Linked DNA regions of Homo sapiens: all the other regions are linked to region 1. Evidence: promoter capture Hi-C in human tissues and cell types (Jung and others, 2019). All regions are on one chromosome and are shown on one strand. Each heading gives the region's core, a stretch centred on a gene start or on the middle of the fragment in contact. The rest is flanking DNA. Distances are from core to core; before and after follow the strand shown.

The links. Contacts are between HindIII fragments. The study calls those that stand out against the background at their distance.
Region 2: a fragment that was not itself captured here is called in contact with the fragment with the promoter of HAVCR1 in region 1 in 1 of the 25 tissues and cell types used here (dorsolateral prefrontal cortex).
Region 3: a fragment that was not itself captured here is called in contact with the fragment with the promoter of HAVCR1 in region 1 in 1 of the 25 tissues and cell types used here (dorsolateral prefrontal cortex).

The regions. Positions count from the first base shown.
Region 1 is chr5:157,057,284-157,060,619 of GRCh38, forward strand. HAVCR1 (hepatitis A virus cellular receptor 1) reads right to left here and starts at 1,833. Exons shown (of 9, transcript NM_001173393.3): 1 at 1,638-1,833; 2 at 615-672. The coding sequence starts at 660. The HindIII fragment of the contact is 13,602 bases long and covers 1-3,336 here.
Region 2 is chr5:155,240,377-155,243,712 of GRCh38, forward strand. No RefSeq gene overlaps it. Among named protein-coding and RNA genes, the nearest start is that of KIF4B, 230 kb to the left of the region's middle. The HindIII fragment of the contact is 5,305 bases long and covers 1-3,336 here.
Region 3 is chr5:155,300,433-155,303,768 of GRCh38, forward strand. No RefSeq gene overlaps it. Among named protein-coding and RNA genes, the nearest start is that of KIF4B, 290 kb to the left of the region's middle. The HindIII fragment of the contact is 6,985 bases long and covers 1-3,336 here.

The sequences.
Region 1 (3,336 bases), core at 583-3,082:
CTAGCCTGGGCGACAGAGTGAGACTCTGTCTCAAAAAAAAAAAGATTGCCCTACTGCACTCCAGAGTGAGACCTCATGAAGAGAGAGAGAGAGAGAGAGAGAGGAAAGAAAGAAAGAAAGAAAGAAAGAAAGAAAGAAAGAAAGAAAGAAAGAAAGAAAGAAAGAAAGAAAGAAAGAAAGAGAATTGAATGTGGCTGAAAAAAATCGGAAGGCACAAAAAAATACAATAAGGATTAACTCTCCCTCCACCTCCCACCCTCTGCCCCCATCCCACATTACCCACTGTCACTATTTCCTATATACATGTGTCTATGCATATACATCTAACCACACCCTTTTTGTTTAAACACAAAGGGCAGCCTGTGACACACTGTGCTGCATCTTGCCTTGTTCATTTAGCCATGAATGTTGTAATTCACAGCAGTTAAGCAATTTCTTTGGCCTAAAACTTTATTCTGGTCCTGCTCACTAGTTAACTCATAGCCATACAACGGTACCCAAAGAACATCTACATTAATCCACCACCACCATCCCCTCCCCTTCCCCTACCCCATTCTCTGGCTTCTAACCCCCCTCTACTCCCTTCTTCCCGCCCAGGGCACCTACTCACTTACCTGCCAGATGTAGGATGAGGCTTAAGATGACCACTTGAGGATGCATTATGGGATCAGCCTGAAGGAAAATGAGCAGACAGGCTGGTTGGTACCCTCCACCAGATGGTATCTGATCAAGTCTTAAATCTCAGATTGCAACTTATCTTTTCACCCAGTTGGTTGATTCATATGAGCCTGCTCTGCTGGAAATGAGAGAAGACCACATATAACGGCTTCAGAGCTCTGTTAGTTCCCTGCAGCTGAGAGCTCTGTGCCTTCCAAAGGACAGGGAAAGCTGTCCACAGAAACAGCCCCTGACTTCCCAGCTTCTTCCCCACACATAACCGCCAAACTGACTCCTGGTCCTGATACAGGGTATCAGGGGAACAAACAAAAAGGAAACAGGGCCGGGCGCGGTGGCTCAAACCTGTAATCCTAGCACTTTGGGAGGCCAAGGCGGGCAGATCACGAAGTCAGGAGATCGAGACCATCCTGGCTAAAAGGGTGAAACCCCGTCTCTACTAAAAATACAAAAAATTAGCCGGGCGTGGTCACTGGCGCCTGTAGTCCCAGCTACTCGGGAGGCTGAGGCAGGAGAATGGCGTGAACCCGCGGGAGGCGGAGCTTGCGGTGAGCCGAGATCGCGCCACTGCACTCCAGCCTGGGCGACAGAGCAAGACTCCGTCTCAAAAAACAAAACAAAAAAAAAGAAAAGAAAAGGAAACTGGAAGCAGAGAACCAGCGTGGCTCAATGGCAGCACGAGAGCAAATGCCAGCCTTCCAGTGGCAGAGATGCACTTGCTTTTCAGAGTAAACTGGGCCTCTGGTGGACGTGGAGCTTTTCCTACTCAGTGGCCACAACGACTTATCCCTAGCCTTAACAGTCATATTGCCAAGTTTGCCATTAGCAAGAGAAATTGAGAGTGAATGTGAATCACTGTGCCTAACCTTTCATGCTCCTGTACAACATGCTTCAGACTACACCTCCTTACCAAGGGACTTCAAGAGAATGCTTCAGGAAACAGAAGTCTGGAGCAGACTTACGTTCAGATCCAGGCTCTGTCACTCACAATGCTGGGTAACCCTGAGAGTTCCTGAGTTCTCTTCAAACCTCTATTTCCTCAGTTGTAAAATAGCACTAAAAATGCTTCCTCTATCTCCCACCAAGGATTGATATAATAAGCAAAAAGGGCCACGGAAGAACTTGGAAAACTAAACCTACATCATATGCAGTAATAGCACTAGCTGAGGTTTTTGGAGAATACTATATAGCAGGCTCTGTGTCAAGCACCCACATGCGTTAAATCGGGCTGTTGACTTCTGCTGTTAATCATTAAACCATACAAACATGAGTAAGCTTGCCTAGTACTTCATTAACTCCTCTTCTGGTCTAAGAATTCAGTAACTTCCAAGGAGGCAGTGGTGGTCTGTATCTTGCAGCTCATGACAGGGTTCATGGGGAAGTGGATGATCTCAGCATAGTGTTTTGTATGGCAGCGTTTAAAAATTCATTTCTTGACCGGGCATGGTGGCTCGTGCCTGTAACCCCAGCACTTTGGGAGGCCGAGTAGGCCAGTCACCTGAGGTCGGGAGTTCAAGACCAGCCTGGCTAACACGGTGAAACCCCGACTCTACTAAAAATACAAAAATTAGCTGGGGGTGGTGGCGGGCGCCTGTAATCCCAGCTACTTAGGAGGCTGAGGTAGAAGAATTGCTTGAACCTGGAAGGTGGAGGTTGCAGTGAGCCGAGATCAAGCCATTGCACTCTAGCCTGGACAACAAGAACAAAACTCCATCTCAAAAATAAAAATAAAAATTCATTTCTTGCCAGGCACAGTGGCTCACGCCTGTAATCCCAACACTTTGGGAGGCCAAGGCAAGTGGATCACCTGAGGTAAGGAGTTTGAGACCAACCTGGGCAACATAGCAAGACTCCCTCTCTGCAAAAAAAACGAACAAAAAATATAGTCAGGCCTTGTGTACCTGACCGTAGTCCCAGCTACTCAGGAGGCTGAGGCAGGAGGGTTGCTTGAGCCCAGCAGTTGGAGGCTATGATTGTGCCACTGCACACCAGCCGGGGTGACAGAGCAAGACCCTGTTTCTTAAGGAAAAAAAGATTGAAAAAAAAAAGCTAATTCAATTCAACCAGTTATTACTAACATATTGAGCTGATGGGACATGACTCAATATACTAGGGACGTCAAAAATCCAGACTTGTGCAATCGGGCAGGGACATGGGTAAGTAAGCAACTAATGAAATCAGGATAAGTGAGGTAAAGGTAAATATATAATCAGACTACATCATTCCCCCACTTATAACCCTCTCATAACTCTCTCAGAAAAATAATAATAATAATAATAATAATAATTCCTAAATCTTTACTCAAATTACTGAAGCCCTGGTGGTCTGGCCCTGACCTACCCCATAGATTTCTTCTACCACTCTCTCCCCTGCTGACTCAGCCCCAGCTACTAGAGCTTTCTTTCCAACTTGCCTCAACCCTAAGGCCTTTTCCGTGGCTGTGTTCTCCATCTAGCTCCCCAGCCCCACCATTTTCACTTTTTTCCTTTTCATTTTTATCCCGGCTTAAATATGACCTCCCTGGACATTTTTCACAGGTCCTTCAATCTAAAGTAGCCAACCAGTCCCTCTCACTATTATTATCTTGTTTTCCTTAATCCATTTTATCTGTGTGTGCAATATATGTGGTGTCTGTCTCTATTCCCTCCTATAGAGTGCTGC
Region 2 (3,336 bases), core at 289-2,788, 1.8 Mb before region 1:
TCCAACCCCATCCAGCTCCTGTCCCTGTTCCTGTCTCTCTCCCCAACCCCTGTCCCTGCTCCTGTCTACACCCTCCTTCTTCTGCTACAGGAAGAGAACACTTATGTATATTTTTGCTTCATCTATGGTATGTAGCATAGAACCTGGCACACATTCCACTCATGCATTCATGCATTAGTATACTCCATAGATATTTGAGGAGCATCTATCTAGTACGTGCAGGCCTCAGTGGCTCTTGGTGTGGAAGACAGGTAGACAGCCTGCTTAGGACCTGGGTGAAATATATAGCGCTTAAAACATGTGGGTTAAGCAAATGAGTATCATGTCAATTTTTAGTTCTATGGAGCATTCTTGGTCTCCAGTATCACTTGGAATAGTACTGAGTACTTGACCCTATAGGAGAGTTGGAATCATGCCTACGAGCCAAAACTCTTCAAGTTTTCCACATGGGGATTTCTTCTTTGTCTCATGTTATTGTGTTAAAAGCACCTGTAAGTCTAAGCTCTGAGCTGGCACTGTTACCTACAGCAGTGAATTCAGTTCCAAGACTGGTAGAGAGGGGATGAAAGGGTGAGAAGAGACACAAAAACAAGATAAAGTGGAAGAGAGGACATAGAAGGGCTGGAAAAGAAAGAAGAGTACAGGGGACAAAGGAATGGGCTTTGAGGATGAGGACTTTTGGGGTTAGGGCATAGCTTGCCAGGCACTGGCTGTGTGACCCTGAGCAAGGTGACATTTTTCTCTCATCTGGAAAATGAGGTTAAAATCATTAGCAACTATGGGGACTAAATGAGATGGAGTCTGTCACATTCTTAGTGTGGTGCCCATGAAATAGATGCTCCATAAACAGTAGCTATTCTCATTATTACTGGATAAAGAGAAGAGGGACAGGAAATGAAGAGGAGAATAAAAAGGGAGAAAACTTCAGGGAAAAGGTAGGGGGAAATGAATGAGAGATTTCCATTATTGAGTAGGGTCACTGGGCCTGTTGGCTGTTAGCCAGCCAGTGCAGGGGGAGGGGACTTGACCTTCCCTAGCAGAGGGAGGCTGTTTCTTTGTGTACAAACCTCAGTAGTCATCCCAGGCCACCTGGAAACATCAGGGGCCCTTGCTGTCATAATTGTATCTGGAGATTTTAACAGAATTTTTAGTGTTTGGGAGAAGAGGCTTTTATGATACTGTATCTTTATTTAGATATTATTGAAAAGATTCATTCAGAAAATAATGCTTCACTAGATACTGAACTTGAGAGCAAGATCTTAGGGTAGTAGGTCCCAATGCATGGCCCAAAATGTGGATACCTTGGGCCCACGTCAGACCTACTGAATCAGAAGCTCTGGGGATGGGGGCTGACATGTCTGCATTTTTTTTTTTTTTTTACTATTTCATGGATTTATTTTATTTTATTTATTTCAGTAGTTTTTGGAGAATGGGTGGTTTTTGGTTATTTGGATAAGATTTTTTAGTAGGAATTACTGAGATTTTGGTCCACCTGTCACCTGAGCAGTGTACCCTGTACCCAATGCTAGTCTTTTATCCTTTGCACTCCTTTCCCCCCATGTCCCCAAAGTCCATTATATCATTCTTATGCCTTTGTGTCCTCATAGTTTAGCTCCCACTTATAAGTGAGAACATACAATATTTGGTTTTCCATTCCTGAATTACTTCATTTAGAATAATGGTTTCCAACTCCATCCAAGTTGCCGAGAATGCCATTATTTCATTCCTTTTTATGGCTGAGTAGTATTCCATGAGGTATATTTACCATATTTTCTTTATCCACTCATTGGCTGATGGGCACTTAGGCTGGTTCCACATTTTTGCAATTGTGAATTGTGCTGCTATAAACATGTGTGCAAGTGTCTTTTTCATATAATGACTTCTTTTCTTCTGGGTAGATACCCAGTAGTGGGATTGCTGGGTCAAATGGTAGTTCTACTTTTAGTTCTTTAAGAACTCTCTATACTGTTTTCCATAGTGGTTGTACTAGTTTACATTCCCACCAGCAGTGTAAAAGTGTTCTTTTCTCACCACATCCATATCAACATCTATTATTTTTTGATTTTTAAATTATTGCCATTCTTGCAGGAGTAAGGTGGTATCTCATTGTGATCTTAATTTGCATTTACCTGATAATTAATGATGTTAAGCATTTTTTCATATGTTTGCTGGCCACTTGTGTGTCTTCTTTTGGGAATTGTCTATTCATGTTCTTAGGTCACCTTCTGATGGGATTCTTTGTTTTTTTTCTTGCTGACTTGAGTTTTTGATATTAGTTCTTTGTTGGATGCATAGTTTGTGAATATTTTCTCCCACTCTGTGGGTTGTCCGTTTACTCTGCTGATTATTTCTTTTGCTGTGCAGAAGCTTTTTACTTTAATTAGGTCCCATCAATTTTTTTGTTGTAGTTGCATTTGCTTTTGAGTTCTTGGTCATGAACTCTTTGGCTAAGCCAATGTCTAGAAGAGTTTTACCAATGTTGTCTTCTGGAATTTTTATGGTTTCAGGTCTTAGATTTGGCTCTTTGATCTATCTTGAGTTGATTTTTATATAAGGTGAGAGATGAGGATCCGGTTTTACTCTTCTACACGTGGCTTGCCAGTTATCCCAGCATCATTTGTTGAATAGGGTGTCCTTTCCCCACTTTATGTTTTTGTTTGTTTTGTCGAAGATCAGTTGGCTGTAAGTATTTGGCTTTATTTCTGGGTTCTCTATTCTGTTCCATTGGTTTACATGCCTATTTTTATACCAGTACGGTGCTGTTTTGATAACTGTAGGCTTGTAGTATAGTTTGAAGTCAGGTAATGTGATGTCTCCAAATTTTTTCTTTTTGCTTAGTCTTTCTTCAGCTATGTGGGGTCTTTTTTGGTTCCATATGAATTTTAGGAATGATTTTTCTAGTTCTGTGAGGAATGATGATGGTACTTTGCTGGGAATTACATTGAATCTGCATATTACTTATGGAAGTATGGTCGTTTTCACAATATTGATTCTACCCATCTATGAGCATGGGATGTTTTCCCATTTGTTTGTGTCGTCAATGATTTCTTTTAGTAGTGTTTTGTAGTTTTCCTTGTAGAGATCTTTCACCTCCTTGATTAGGTATATTCCTAAGTATTTTATTTTATTTTTGCAGCTGTTGTAAAGGGGATTGAGTTCTTGATTTATTTCTCAGCTTGATCATTGTTGGTGTATAGTAGTTCTACTGAGATGTGTACATTGATTTTGTAGCCTGAGACTTTACTGAATTCATTTATCAGATCTAGGAGCTTTTTGAATGAGTCTTTAGGGTTTTCTAGGTATACAATCATATCATTGGCTAACAGCAACAGTTTG
Region 3 (3,336 bases), core at 261-2,760, 1.8 Mb before region 1:
GAAACTCCATCTCAAAAAAAAAAAAAAAAAAAAAAAAAAAAATATATATATATATATATATATATATATATATATATATATATATATACACATGACAGAGAATTTTCCCCTGTGGTGAAATCTGAGGACCAGGACCTGGGCCCAAGGGGATATTCGATATAGCATAGTTTAGAGCTGCACTGTCCAATGTGGTGGTCACTAGCTACCTGTGACTGCTGAGCATTTTTTTTTAGGTGGGCTAGTCTGAATTGAGATGTGCGGAAAATGTAAAATACACACCAAGTTTCCAAAACTTAGTACAAAAAAAGTTTAAAAGAACCCTCATTTTTTATTGATTTAATTTCAGAATTAATTTTTACATATTGAAATAATATTTTTGATGGGTGAAATAAAATGTATTAAAATTAATATTTTTTAACTTTTAAGTTGAGGGGCACATGTGTAGGATGTGAAGGTTTGTTACATAGATAAGCGTGTGTCATTAGGGTTTGTTGTATGGATTATTTCATCACCCAGGTATTAAGCCTAATATCCATTAGTTATTTTTCCTGATCCTCTCCCTCCTCCCACCCTGTACACTTTGATAGGCCCCAGTGTGTGTTGTTCCCCTCTATGTGTCCGTGTGTTCTTATAATTAAAATTAATTTTAATAGTTAATATTTATTTATTTGTTGAGATAGAGTCTTGCTCTGTCACCAGGCTGGAGTGCAGTGGCATGATCTCGGCTCACTGCAAGCTCCGCCTCACGGATTCGAGTGATTCTTCTGCCTCAGACTCCCAAATAGCTGAGACTATAGGTGCGCGCCAGCACCCCCGGCTAATTTTTGTATTTTTAGTAGAGACGGGGTTTCACCATGTTGACCAGGATGGCCTCAATCTCTTGACCTCATGATCCACCCCCTCGGCCTCCCAAAGTGCTGGGACTATAGGCATGAGCCACAGCCCCTGGCCTTAATAGTTAATTTTTAATGTGGCTTTTAAAACTTCTTAGATGTGGCTACTAGAACATTTTTAATTACATGTGTAGATTTACTTTATATATCTACTGTACAGCACTGGTTTAGAGGTGAAGAGTGTGGGCTCTGGAGATAGTCTATCTAGATTTGAACCCTGGCTGCAAATCACTGGCTATGTGACTCCTGGCAAAGTGGCTTTCAGACCTTCCACAGAGACCTGCTGTAATCATTTCATTTTATAACATTTTACACTCACATACACATACAGATAAAATGGATGAAATAATACCCTTACCACATGTAATGCATTCTGATATGTTCTGTTTCATTTCATTCCCCTCCCACCTCCTATAGTCTTTCCTCTCTCATCTGTTTATTTAAAACAATGCTTGTCATGACCTCCTGAATTAAATTCAAAACACAGAAATGGGTCACAAACTCTGGTTTGAAATTCCATTCTTGACCTTTCTGTGTTAACTCTCATCTGTAAAATGGAACAAATACTTCCATGATCTCTTAAAGTCATTTTGAGACTATATGTAAGATAGTGTATGTAAAGCCCTTAGAACAATACCTGGTATATAATGAAGTGCTTGATGAATGAAAGAAAGTATTATTATTCTAAATGGGCCTTCAGTTTTCCCTAGGAACACTTATCAGTGTCTGTTACATAGGAAAACACACTAAATATTAGCTGCTTTTCTTACTAATGTTGTTTTAAATAGGCCTGCAAGTTTCATACTAATTTTTTTACCCCCAAAGAGAAGTCACTTGGTGTGAGCAAATGCAGCATTTCCATAGTGGGAAAAGAGACTTCCAGCCTCCTTGTATGTTGCTTTATAAGATCTCTTAAGTTGTTTTTCCCTGTGTGTGTTCTCTCTTCTCTATGTAGGCTGTAAATTCTCAGCAGACAAACTTTGTGCCATCTGTTGTCTTGGATCCCCCTCCGTCATACCCAGGACACAAAGGCAACATTTGTAGCACAGGCTTTGGAGCCACAAAATCTGGGGTTCACACCCTAGCTGTGCTACTCACTGTGTTCTTTGACTTTCGTCTTCCTCCAAAACGAAGGCCTTGTGGCCTCTGAATCCTCATCTGTGACACAGGAATCATGATACCCTCCTCTCAGCTCTGCCATGAAGATTAAATGGCAGCCGGGCATGATGGTTCATGCCTGTAATCCCAGCACTTTGGGAGGGCAAGGCGGGAGGATTACTTGAGGCCAGAGTTTGAGACCAGCCTGGGCAATAAAGTGAGACCTTGTCTCTACCAAAATAAATAAATAAATAAATAAATATAAATAAAAAATTAGCCAAGCTTGGTGGTGCACACTTGTGGTCCCAGCTACATGGGAAGCTGAGGCAGGAAGATTACTTGATGATCCCAGGAGGTTGAGGCCACAGTGAGCTATGATTGCACCACTGCACTCCAGCCTGGGCAATAGAGCCAAGACCCTGTCTCAAAAAGAAAAAAAAAAAAAGACATAAAAAATTAAATGGCATATTGTACGCACTGAGCCTTCTACAGAGCTGGTTGCAGGAAGTGGAGGTCATGGTTGTTGCTGCATGATTTTTATGGTATGAGCTTGGTAAGGGCTGAGTAGATCCCAAATTCCCTGGCGTCACTCCTGGTGTACAATCAAGGCACCTCAGATTCAAAGCACTTCATCCTGATGCTTTTGCACATTGGCCAACCCTCTTAGAACTCACCATGTACTACTTCTGGAATTATGAGAATATACACAAAGGTCATGTGCCTCGAACAGAGCTTCCTGGAGATGAAATTTTTGATTGCATCAGGCCCAACCGCTCATGTTTGCACTTGCTTAGGCAGAAAAGGAAGGTGGTTTGAAACCACCCTGGGCAGCTTCCTGTAGCCACTGAGCCCCTGAACTGGAGTGCAGTTGGTGTGACAGGGTTGCCCACAGAGTGAATGGGTCTGCCTCCAGGGTCCTGTTTACCAGCAAGGGAAACTCTGTGTTCTCCCCTGACATTGTCCTTCAGCTGTGGGCCGACAGCAGGCCCAGCAACTTATGTCAACCCTCCAGTCTCAGTTCCTCCATTGGTCAAAAAAAGAGCTGGGAGGGTGGTTATGAGGTTTTGAAGCAACTCAATACCATGTGTCTTTAATTCACTGTTGCCACGCTGTGGGGCTGTGCCAGGCTATGGAGAGGACAATGAGCAAGATGGACAGAATGTTCCTCTCATGGGGCTCATCATCTAGGGTGTTTTAATCCACTTCTTTTCACCCCAGTGGAAGGATTCCCACCCTAGGGCTATGGAGATGACTGAATGCATAACACCGGACACTGGACAAATAGCATCAACAGCATTTTATTAGTCATATATGCTCATTTAGGGGGTTGTAGTTGGGAAAAGAG